3 separate regions of the Homo sapiens genome follow, and regions 1 and 2 are each linked to region 3. The links are contacts of gene promoters, found by promoter capture Hi-C in blood cells and fetal thymus (Javierre and others, 2016). All regions are on one chromosome and are shown on one strand. Each heading gives the region's core, a stretch centred on a gene start or on the middle of the fragment in contact. The rest is flanking DNA. Distances are from core to core; before and after follow the strand shown.

Region 1 (4,237 bases), core at 69-2,568, 260 kb before region 3:
TAAAACTAATGCACATACTACTCTCAGGGAGCAGCCCACCCTTTTCTTTTTGTAGTGCTGACTTCCTTGTGCACAAGTGAAATAAATCTTTCTCTTTCTCTTTGCTGCTATGTCTAGTGATCTCTCTTTATTTCTATCCTGGGAGATTACAAGAACCCAGAGTGCCAATAGCACAGCCATTATGGAAAACAGTATGGAGACTCTCAAAAAATTAAAAATAGAACTACCATATGATCCAGCAATCCTACTTCTGAGTTTTTTATCCAAAAGAACTGAAATCGGTATCTCAAATTGATAGGAGCACTTCTATGTTCGTTGCAGTTGTATTCACAATAATCAAGATGTGGAAACACCCTGAATGTCTACTGATTAATGAATGGATAAAGAAAATGTACGCTATACATACAAGGGGATACTATTCAGATTTTTTAAAAAAGAAGGAAATTCTGCAGTATGTGACAACATGTATGAATTGGAAGACATTATGCTAATTGAAATATGCCAGTTATAGAAAGATAAATATATCACGATTCTATTATATGATGTATCTAAAACTAGGCAAATTCATAGAATCCCAGAAAGGGATGGTGGTTGTCAGGTGGGAAGACAGTGAAATGAGGAGTGACAAATTAAGTTTCAGTCAAGGAAGATGAATAAGCTCTAAAGATATTGTATACAATATGGTATCTATATTCAACAATATTATATTGTATAGGTAAAAATTTGTTACAATGATAGATCTCATGTCTTCTTACCAGAACTGAAACAATAACAAATACAAAAATGAATCCTCTGTTGGCATCCTGTCTTACTCAGAAAAGAAATCTAAAGCGCTTATCATTCCTTATGCACTCTGGCTCTCTGCCAGCTCTCAGATAAAATATACTACCATTCATCTCTATTCCAGCCATGACAAGAAACTTATTACTTCAAGGTCTTTGCATTGTCAGTCCCCTCCACCTGGAAAGGTTCTTCTCTCAGAAGTAGACATGATTGTCTTGCTCACTTCATTCCCTGGCCACTCTAATTAATTAAAATAACTGTCACCATCTCCATTATTTCCTCTACTCAATCTAAACAGTTTTCAATACTCATAATGCACTGAAAACTATAATTAGCCTATGGAATTGGCATTGACCTTGCTTTAATTTCTCATTTCTATCATCTCCCTTGCATTACCTGCTTTTGCTGCCATTGTTCTAAGTATTTCTAGGCTACATACACAGAAGTAATACATTCAGTGTTGTCTACCAAGTTACTACATTTCATAAAAATCAAAGAAAGATTTAATCAGCTGTTTATCTGCACTGAAAAAAAAAGATAGATAATTGGAGACCCATACAACCATTATATAAGTATGAAATAATTGGATTGGGGAAATGAAAGGAAAGACAAAGGGAATGCTTTTAAGTATTCCCTTTGAAAAATTAATCCCAACCAGGGTTTACTCTCTTACCTATTAGCTTGAGACCTAAGAGTTTAAGAAAGAAAAGAATGTGTCTGATTTCCATGAATAACTTGTACAGGGAAAGGTCAATTTAGAAAGGAAAGGGAAAGCATTATATTTTAATTTAGGTGCACTCACCAATGAATTCTCTATGTGATTAAAATAGTCTTGATCCTCACTATGCATTTATAGTGCTGTATAACTTACAGAATGCTTTTGTGTGCATTATCTCATTGAATCATCAAAAATCAATATTCGTGTTGTGGCTATGACTAGATTAACTAACTAACATCATCCCAAACAAAAGTTAATTTTGAATACTCCAAAGAATTGATGGCTGTTTGAGACAGGTGTTTCTGCCCAACTCTAGACTTCTGCGTAACAAAGTAGGTTATAATTAGAAGTGATTTAAAACAAAAACAAACCAAAAAAAAGGTCTTTGTCCTAGCTTTTCTACTCTCCTTACTTATCATGATCCATGAAAAAAGTTACCTTATCCACTTGCAAATGATTGAAAATATGTAACTAGAGATAATTTTCTTTATTGTAAACTTCATTTTCTCTTCATATAAAACTACATTGACCAGGTAGCTATTGAATTATTGAAATGTGGATAGTCTGAACTGAGATGTGTATAATATAAGTACTAGATTTTTAAAATGTAAAAGTAAGTTTTGTCTAATAATTTTACATTGATTACATGTAAATCAATGAAACTGATGATATTTTGTAAATATCATGCTAAAGTATATCACTCAAAGAAGTTTTTCCCTGTTTCTTTTTGCTTTTTTGATACAGTTACTAGGAAAATTTTAATTACATATATGACTCAAAATTGTGGCTCACATTATATTACTATCGAAGAGATCATTCAGAGAGGGCATATAACTTATAGATTCCTAAAATCTGGTTTAATTAGATGTAGTTAAGGAAGAAACAAATGAGAGTATCATGAAATTTATCCCAAGTTTAGAAAGAAAGACACAGGAAAGTGTGCAAGATATTTCGTATCAGAAAATTGGTAATAGAAGGCTTTATGATTGGCAATATTTACTGAGTGTTTACTAGGTACCTGGCATTGCACAAACTTTATCCCATTTAATACTTATAAAACCCCATGAGGTAGAGACTAAATAAGGTGAAACCCATTTTCTGTATTTTTTTCCACAGTCATTTGCCAAAATTTAGCTTCTCTTTCTCTTTCATTTTGTTGAACTCTATAATCTTGAGGCATTTTTTTTTTACTATAGTAACGTCCATTTAATTTTGGTATAGAATTAATACTAAAGAAACATTAAAACATTAAAAAGTGGTTAGGAAATGCATGTCTGCAGCAGACTCCTATAATCAATAAGAATAAAATATAAAAGAAAATGTTTCTTAAGTTTATACAGAGATATCATAGCTGCAGAGAAGGCCTAAATGGGACACTAGGCTACAAACACCTCTCCTTATCCACTCCTTGACTATTTCAGGCCTTATTTCCTAAAATAATGCAGTTGGTAATAACATTGATCCAAGACAGGTGTTGCATGCTGGTATTACCCTAAAGCACTGGCAGTCATTGATAACCAGACTATGGCTCAAGAACAGTTTGGGTATTGTCCTCCCATTCCTTTTTCCTATCTATCATTAGATTTTTGAGTATCTTTATTTTCTTATCTATTACTTAAAATATCTAGAAGTTATTTTAACTCTGCTTTTCCTGAAGATTAACATAAATGTTGTTATATGTTTTGCTCTCTCTCTCTTTCCACATTATCATGAAATTAGACCCCCCAATTGCAGTAGGAGTTTATGCTTCATTTTGTTCTGACATCTTCATTTGTATGAGCCACCACCAGGGAAACCTCATTAACTGTGAATTTGAAAGCTTCATATAAACTACAAGTCTCTCATAAATCTAATCTTATTACAGGAGACCCTTACATTCTCCAGGGATACCCGTTGAGACTTTCAAGAATTCTCAAAGTCAAGAACACTATTATAGCACATAATTTCTTTCTTAAAAATTCAGTAATGCAGAATAAAAAAATATATGAAAGGTCTCTTCAGACTCTTAATGGTTCTAATAACACAAAGCCAAAATCGTATATAAAGTCATTTGAGAGATAAGAATTGTTATTTTCTTCCACCTCTTTATTGCTCACCAACTTTATTGGTTGCCTACTGTCTGGGAAGTATTTCACAATGCAACAAAGTTTGCATCGTGTCATGAATGTAGCTGCATGGAAGATGATAAAGAGAGAACAATAAAAGCCCAAATTGGGATGAATTTTCAACTAGGAAAAATGGATGAGGAAGCTGATACCAGGTCACTAGCTGTGAAGCATAGAGATTCAATTTCAGTTGTGGTAAATTATGAATTATTACCAGTTATTGCAAATGAAGACTGTTTGTAAATAATGAAAAGAAATTTGTAATGCCAAATGTAAGGAACTACTACTCGAGCTATTTAATCAAAATTGAACTGATCGGGTATACAGTCATGTGCCACATTACATTTCAGTCAAAGAACCACACATACAATGGTGATTCCATAAGATTATAATACTGTATCTTTAATGTGCCTTTTTATGTTTAGATAAGTTTAGATACACAATACTTACCACTGTGTTACAATTGCCTCCAGTATTCAGTACAATAACATAATGTACAGGTTTGTAGCTTAGAAGCAATAGGTCATACCATATAGCCTAGATGTGTAGTAGGCTATACCATCTTAAGTTTGCTTAAGTACACTCTATAATATTTACACAATGAAATTGCCTAATGATGCATTTCTCAGAA
Region 2 (4,148 bases), core at 1,219-3,718, 310 kb before region 3:
AAGCCAGTAAGCTAACTACATGAAAGAACCCAGATTGTGCAGACAGGGTTTGGAGCAGAAACACTTCAGAGACTTTATCTAGTATTTTGACTTTTATATGTCCTTGGAGAAGAAAGCATGCTAGCTACAAAACCAAATAAGGAGGAGAAAGGAGCAAACCGTATGCTTAAGAATAATTACAGTTTCAATTTTTGTATGAACTAAATGTGAAGTTTCAAAGATAAAGTGTAATAGAAATTGAGGGGGTTTGGTGTGTCTAAAATATTGGCAAGAAACAAACTTCTTATTTCCCTTGCTAGCTCATCCCAAATTTCTGCCATATGGAAGTTAGTCTGGGTAGCTTAATTGAATGCTATCAACTCCTCCACAAGTCCGTTTGCTTTTGTTTTGCACTCAGTAGAGATGAAAAATATCAGATCACAATCTCTATAAACTAAACCATCATAATTCAAGCTTGCATTCAGTGACTTATCTGACGCTTCTTTAAATTTAAAACATCTCAATTATTTTAACCTCTTTTCAAGACAGTAATTCTTCTTGTTCATTGTTCCAGCAAAAATATTATTATCACAACAATACAAGTAATCTTGAAATATTTCATTGCCATGAAAACCATAAATGAGGTGAAAAATCTAATAGTGGAAAACAATAAACATTACTATTATTATTGTGAGTGTTCAATATCATGCTTCACATAAATCTTCATTTCAATGTGATTGGCAGAGCAGGGTGATCACTTGGGCTGAGTCATATATTCCAAATAAAATAATAGTAAGAATCTGTCCATTGCACCTTTGTCATGTGGACAGTTAAACCACCGTGGTTTAACTGACCTATAGTCACATCAGTACCTGCTATTGCTGTGGCCCCACGGTTGCTCCTTTCTTTCTCTTCATCCACCAAATCATTCTGACTACCAATCAGTACTTTTGAATCCAGGCCAGCTTGATTTGGGTGAAGTTTCTTGGTTATGTCTACGTGATGACGCTGAAATGACACAGGTCACAAGTAAATTATCAGTCCAAAATAAATGCTTCATAGAGATATGAAAGATTTATCACATGGCAATTCATTTCTGTATGTCTGAAACAGAACATTTGACATGTCAAAGCAAGCTACAAATTATATGTTCATCAATATATTTTGGAAACTGAGGTGTACAATTTTTGAAGCAATCTAAGTAACTAGAATAAGAAGTCATTTTAGGCATAGAAAACCATCTGCAAAGACTATTTGTGTATATTACTTTCTTCTTGTGAAGCTTATAAAATATTTTTCATTTAGAAAATTTTTACTTAGTTTTTATTATTATAGTTAACTAATCCAGCACTTCATTATATATTACATAATTACATATTATATAATCAAAAGCAGATTTCATTTCTGTATCATCTGTACTCTTTATATAAAACAAATCATAACATCTACTATAAATTAAACCACATTTTTAATCAGCATTATGCAAATTTGACAAAGCTCCTTTAGTCAATTTCAGAGTAATAATTCATCATAACAATGAATTATTAAGGCACAGCATCAATGGTCCCTATAACTCATCTCACATGTAAGAGATGTCACAGCATTTGACATTATACTGACACACTGTATGCTTCAAAGAATCATCAGATGGGAACAAAAAGTGAAGACTTCAATTGGAAATTAAACTTCCAGTACTTAATTAATTCATACCCAAGTCCAGACTAGAAGTTTGTCAAATTGAATAAGATTACAGAATATGTGAAGATTCTCAGCGTAAATATTAGCTAATCAATTATGGCCATTCAGGCTAGCCATGTTGGCTCACTAAAGGATAGTATAATGGACAACTTTCCTGTAAAGTTTCTCCTGTAGACCATATATTGCATGAAATTCATTAAAAGCTTGATTTTATAAAATCAACCACTTTTAAAGCTTGAGAAAGGCCAATAAGGAAATTAGGCTTTAGAATGATTAAATAATTCACTTGAGTTAACAAAATGAACAGTGCTGAGCCTTACGATATGAATCCTGAACTTTGGACAGTGTTCTTCATGATTGATTTCTTAAGATTTTTAATGTGGTGGACTGGATGTATGGATAGCCCTCATTCTTCACCCATCTCTGTATCCATGTCCTTTCTATAGAATTTTGCAGGGCCCTCCTACTCTGACTTTTGGCCTATCAATGTGGCTTCTTCTGGCCCAATAGGATATTGACACAGAGGCTTGAAAGAGGCTTGCACAATTGTTTTTGCTCATTCCTTAACTTCCACTATGCCATGAGGCTATGCCTAGACTAGCTGGCTGCAGATTGAACATGAGATGGGCAGAGTTAGGTCACCCCAGTTGTCCAAGCTGAAGCAAACAACAGCCAGAGGAGCCCCAGACGTTTGGGTGAAACCAGTCTAGATCATCTGAGACCAGCTCAAGTCAGATGAATTCCACAGCTTCATGAACTAAATGAATGTGATTTTGGTTGTATGCCATTATGTTTTTCTGGTGGTTATGCAGCATTGTATGCTGACGGATAACTGGTACATTCAACCACCGTCTATCTATAGTATCCCAGATAATGGATGTGGTGTGAGAATACAAATATAACATGACATTCTCTCAGACTCCAAATTATTCAAACACAATTTCTTACATTGCTTATGCAGATAATTAAAATAGAGTGTGGTAAGTCATTTGTAGATATTTCTCAATTCCTTTTCTAATGACCAAGGAAGGGATCCTAGCAATACTACAAAAGACAGCTCAAAAGATCAGTTTGGATGTTGGTATCAACTAGAACTAAACCACCCCACTTGTTTATTTTTAGCTCCTCCACAGTCCACAAAAATATAAGCCCATCACTGTAATTTTTAAAATTTATTGTCAGGCCTCTATTATCATGTAGTTTTTGGAAAGAAGCAGATTTCAGCATCCAACTACTTTCCTGATTCTGAATTACATACCTTTGAAAAGTATATTATTATTTCAAGTTATGACATGAGTATTAAATCACAGTTTCTCAGAACTGAGCAATGCAATAGATCAAAGAAGGAATAAGCTTCATGTTTGTTCATACCAAATTCAATTGAAAATATTAAAACATTGAGGGAAAGTTAAGAATTCATGCAAGTTGTGTATATTCTAATATATTCCAGACTGAAAATAAAAGAAATGCTGAGTTTATTTACTCATAAAAGGATTGTTGTGAAAACCTGAGAGAGAAAATAGCCCCTTCATCAGAATAGGTTCTGTATTGTAAAGGTTCTGTGCTTCCTGGTGCAAACCTCTGGCACACTGGACATTTTATAAACATATTAGTGTTTCAGTAATTAAGAGCCTCATTTTCCTGGAAACAGTTCCCACAGTGGAGTCTCTTCTTAAGCAACCCCTGTCAGATTTTCCAGCTTCTCTTTTACATTACATATTATAGCCAGGCTGCTGTTCCCAGGTCCTAACGTAAAGGGAGGTAGGTGTCTCTTAAGTTGCTGACCTTGCCACACTCGCTCTTCCTTGTTTACTTAGCCCCTCCTTCTAGTTCCCTGGGTCTGCACATTATACCCTGGCATCTCTTTTCTGCTACAATAAAATTCCTACAGTGTTTCATTCTTAATTGCCCAACTGCCCTCCACTAACCCTCAATTCTCTCTCTTCCCTCTCCCCTTTCCTATTTCTCAAATTCTTCCACCATGCCTTGATAACTTTGCTTTATGGTTTGCAAACTTCACTACCTGTTCAACTTCTTTTCTGAATATTGTCTCTACCTTCTTACCCTGACGAAAATCTCATTCTTCTTTGAAGACACCTCTTCTTCTGTGAATGATACTGCCTGCTTATTCTTCCTCATCCCTGTTACCCTTAAGTTGGAGGATCCCCTTCTCTGAGTGTTGTCCGTTGCAACCTTACCTCCTTGCAAAACATGTCTGCTACTTTGATATTCCTGTCGTCTAACTGTGTGCCGTCTCCCTTCTTGTTGGTATCATCTATCTACTAATATCCATGCATTTTTCATAAAAAGGCTTTGACACCCAGACTTTTGTCTTTTCTAGCCTCAGCATCGCTATGATCTTGGACAATATCCATATCTACATAAACATTCTGTCTGATTCATCCCTGGATCTCCTTACTACAAATGAACTTCTCATTTTTTCTACCTCATGCTTTCAGTCCCAAGATCAC
Region 3 (4,252 bases), core at 750-3,249:
CCACACTGTTAATCCAGTATAATCTACCTTGTCAAGATCCTTTACTTAATCACATTTGCAAAGACCGCTTTTCCCTAAAAGATAACATTTACAGCTTATTGGGATTAGGACCTGGTATCTTCCAGTAGCCATTATTCAGCCTACTAAAATCTATATGCTTTCCAATGTATTTTTAAACAGAATTTTTCAAGGTATAGGCTTTAAAAAATTAAGAGAATCCCAAGAGATCTAAACAGTAAGAGAGAGAGGCCTAAGTGATGATATTGAGTGGTATTGAACAAAATAAGACAAAGAAGATCATCTGCCATATTTGACAGATGTTGGTAGACAACATCTTCTCTTCATGTTCCGTTGTTTGTAATTTGTTTTTACTGCTACCAGAACCTCTTACAATTCTCTACTCACTCATGTAAATACTAGCTGCAGAAGGTCTGGCAAAACTTTCTCCTATTTGTATATGTGTAAAGTGGTCTTTCCCTTACATCAAGTTAAAGAAAAAATACAGTTGTAATAGCTACTTCCCAATAGCCAAAGGGTTGTATTTGAAAGAGGGATGAAAATCACTCCAGGTACCAAGAAAAACTACTGTGTGATCTGGGACAAGTTATCTGCTTTTTTTGAGACCCACTTTTCTCATCTTTACAATGAAATAACTAAATTCTGCTCTCTAGGCTTGTTCTGAAGATTACTGAATATACATTTAAAGTACCTAGAAGTATTTGACACATAGCAGGAACTTAATATACAATTACTGGTATTACTATTAAGGATTAAGAAAGCACTGGCATGCAACATATTATATATTTGACAAGATTACATCATCTTGAAAAAATATAAGAAGTATTCTTTTTGTATAGTACTTTAAGGAGGATATTATTCATTTTATATCATTTTCCTTCTCACTGTGATATGTAGAATATATCACACCAAAATTGTGGTTGACCCAACACTCCAACCAGTGTCCTATTTTATTCACTCTGTATTTCTTAATCTATTCAATAAATATTACTAAATCCATTTGCTGTGCTAGATGCTGAGGGAGGTGTGTGACACAGCCTGTAGTCTAGTAGGGGAGGTAGGCATTAAATAATTAACTCCAGTCAATTTCAGTGCTATATATGAAAAAGACAATTCACTCCTTTTTATGACTTGACTTACAGCTCACAGTGCCCAGAAAACTGGGATTCTTGATAGAATGCGCCACATATATCCTAATTAGCAACAATCACTAGTTTGGCCCCATAATGTACATACCTAACACACACTTTCACAGGCAAGAGAAGAAAATACCTATCATCATATTATGATCAAAGTATTTTGAAGTAAAAATACTTCCTCATTATTTCTTAGAATACTGCATACAGCAATTCCTTTAAAAGCAGACTCTACTAGCATGTTTCCCACTGAACAGAACTGTTTGTCCATTTAACCAAAAGGTATTTATTGCCCGGGAATTCATTAGTTCATTATTTGAAGAAATACGTATATTGGGCAAGAATGTAAATCAGGCTGTTTAGTTATCACATGAAAATGCATAAAACAGTACCCACATTCAAAGAGTTCAAAGAGTCCTTCAGGAAATCAGGTGCCTAAAAGTCAAACTGACCTTTAAAAAAAAAATGTTCATAGCTTCCTCTGTTAAATGAATGATCGTTTCAGAGCTTTCTAAATGCCAAACTCTTTTAATATATTATTTCAATTAGCTTTCACAAGCACTTATGAGGCTTGTTGTATGTTTTTTTTTTCCTTTGAGACAGAGTCTTGCTCTGTCACCGAGTCTGGAGTGCAGTGGAGCCATCTCAGGTTACTGCAACCTTCTCCTGGGTTCAAGCAATTCTCCTACCTCAGCCACCCGAGTAGCTGGGACTACAGGCGTGTGCCACTGTGCCTGACTAATTTTTGTTTTTAGTAGAGACGGGGTTTCACTCTGTTGGCCAAGTTGGTGCGTACTCCTGGCCTCAAGTGATCCGCCCACCTTGGCCTCCCAGAGTGCTGGGATTACAGGCATAAGCCACTGTGCCCAGCTGTATCTTCTTTTACCGATGAGGACACTGACAGGTTGGTATCACCTCTTTCCTAGTCTATATTGCAGCCACTCCCTTATTGAAGTTTCTGACTCCAAGTCCTACTCATCCTAATCTACCTGCAGCTTTTAAGGTGTCATTTTTCTAAAACTTAAATATGATCCTATCATTGTTCTTCTTAATAGCCTACAAAGATTTCAGGGAAAATGAAAATGACGAATATAAATTATACTGCACACACTATTTATAATAATATTTAGCCACTTAAAATTAAAACACATAAAAATGTGGGTAAAGCTCATGGTAAAATAGTAACTACAAATAATTACAAGTCACAATCTTTGCAATTATGAGAAATGTTTAAGTAAGCACCTGATAAAAAAAAGGAAAAAGCAAAAGTGATAACAGTTGCTTAGAATATTGTTTCAGAACACCTTTTAAGGTTACCACACTGTTTTAATTTTTAAAGTGGAAGAGAAAGTGCTTTAGCACTGTTGATAGCTGCCACCCTGCCCTCAAGATAAAGTGAATCTTGAGTCTTACAGCCCTTTCTCATATCTGTATCAACATACATTTTAGCCTAATTTCTTACTAACTCCTCAGTATATTCTTGAACACTGCATTAACTTTCATGTCTAACTGCAAACCTCTGCCCATGCTGTTACCAGTGTGGATATGGTCTCTGGTTTTTCTACCTATTTAAATGTCACTTTGTATGGAATTCTATTTCATGTTTAGGCACACTGCATGAAATTATTACTTCAACTATCAGGTTCTTTCACAATTCACAACTTCTTGAGAGCATGGAACATATCCTATGTATTTTTAGTATTTTCTCAATGCCTAGTGTAAGACATATGGCAGAGAGTAAGTGTGCAACAAAATTGTGTTAATATTCATATTTTTCATAAGTGAAAACAATTTTTTTGTTGATATGATGCTTTGATGGTTTCTGATTTAAGGTTAGGATGTTAAACGGACTCTATTTTTACATGACCATAATTCTACTCCCCAATTCTGTTCCTAAATCTTTAGTGAGCTAAGAATTCAGATTCATGGTAAGGTTAGAATTGTGCTGGACTGCTTGTGACTTCAACTATCCATCTTCCATGGTCAGTTCTTGATCAACTGATACAGTTTGGGTGTTTGTGCCCTCCAAATCTCATGCTGAGATGTATTCCCCAATGCTGGAGATGGGACTTGGTGGGAGGTTTTTGGTTTTGGGGGTTGGCTCTCTCACGAATGCCTTGGTGCCATCCTCACAGTAATGAGTGTTCTTGTGAGATCTGGTTGTTTAAAGAGTGTGGACCTTCCCTCTCCTGTCTCCCTCTCTTGCCAAGTGATACATGGTTCCCCTTCACCTTCTGCCATGATTGTAAGCTCCCTGAGGCCCTCACCAGAAGCAGATGCCAGCACTACGCTTCCTCTACAGCCTGCAGAACCATGAACCATTTAAACCTCTTCTCTTTATAAACTACCCAGTCTCTGACTGCATGCAGTGGCTCACACCTGTAATCCCAGCACTCTGGGAGGCTGAGGCAGGTGGATCATTTGAGTTCAAGACCAGCTTGGCTAACATGGTGAAACCCGATCACTACTAAAAATACAAAAATTAGCTGGACAGGGTGGCGGGCACCTGTAATCCGAGCTACTGGGGAGGCGAGGCAGAAAAATCACTTGAACCTAAGAAGCAGAGGTTGTAGTGCCAATGCACTCCAGCCTGGGTGACAGAGTGAGATTCCATCTCAAAATAATAATAATAATAATAATAATAATAATAATAATAATAATAATAATAATCCAGCCTCACATATTACTTTATAGCAATGCAAGGACTAACTAACACACCAAATGAAGGCCAAATTTCTTACTTTGCTTACTCTTCAAAATACTTGTAAAGCATCATGATCCAGATGTGCTGGAGATTGAGGATGAAAGATAAAAGAAGAAAGAATCTATACTCTCAAAAATATCACTGCTTAGGTTCCCTAGAAGCAGAGCCTAAGACAAGGATTTGGATGCACATGATTTATTAAGGGAGTGTTGTCAGATGAAAAGGAGAGAGGAAAGTAGGGTAGGAAAGGGAAAGCAGCTAAGTGAGAATGTGGTATTAGCATAAGTCTAACTTCAGCCTGATGTCACGGGGAGCACTAGAGCATGAATTGCCCCAGAGTTGACCTAATGAAGTGAGGGCACTGGCTTTTTGTATTCCCCATGTCAGTTAGTCA

What was found. Contacts are between HindIII fragments. The CHiCAGO score rates a contact against its expected background, and 5 or more counts as called.
Region 1: a contact is called between a fragment that was not itself captured here and the fragment with the promoter of PTPRK-AS1 in region 3, in 1 of 17 cell types (naive CD8 T cells). The highest score is 5.9, in naive CD8 T cells.
Region 2: a fragment that was not itself captured here is called in contact with the fragment with the promoter of PTPRK-AS1 in region 3 in 2 of 17 cell types (naive CD8 T cells and total CD8 T cells); the score reaches 5.6 in naive CD8 T cells.

Annotation. Positions count from the first base shown.
Region 1 is chr6:127,761,647-127,765,883 of GRCh38, forward strand. The region is part of intron 4 of THEMIS (thymocyte selection associated); the gene reads right to left. Among named protein-coding and RNA genes, the nearest start is that of LINC02536, 100 kb to the left of the region's middle. The HindIII fragment of the contact is 3,999 bases long and covers 1-3,318 here.
Region 2 is chr6:127,718,837-127,722,984 of GRCh38, forward strand. It overlaps THEMIS (thymocyte selection associated), which reads right to left. Exons shown (of 6, transcript NM_001010923.3): 5 at 852-987. Among named protein-coding and RNA genes, the nearest start is that of LINC02536, 57 kb to the left of the region's middle. The HindIII fragment of the contact is 1,119 bases long and covers 1,910-3,028 here.
Region 3 is chr6:128,025,866-128,030,117 of GRCh38, forward strand. PTPRK-AS1 (PTPRK antisense RNA 1) reads left to right here and starts at 2,000. Exons shown (of 5, transcript NR_125849.1): 1 at 2,000-2,058. The region is part of intron 13 of PTPRK (protein tyrosine phosphatase receptor type K); the gene reads right to left. The HindIII fragment of the contact is 8,791 bases long and covers 1-4,252 here.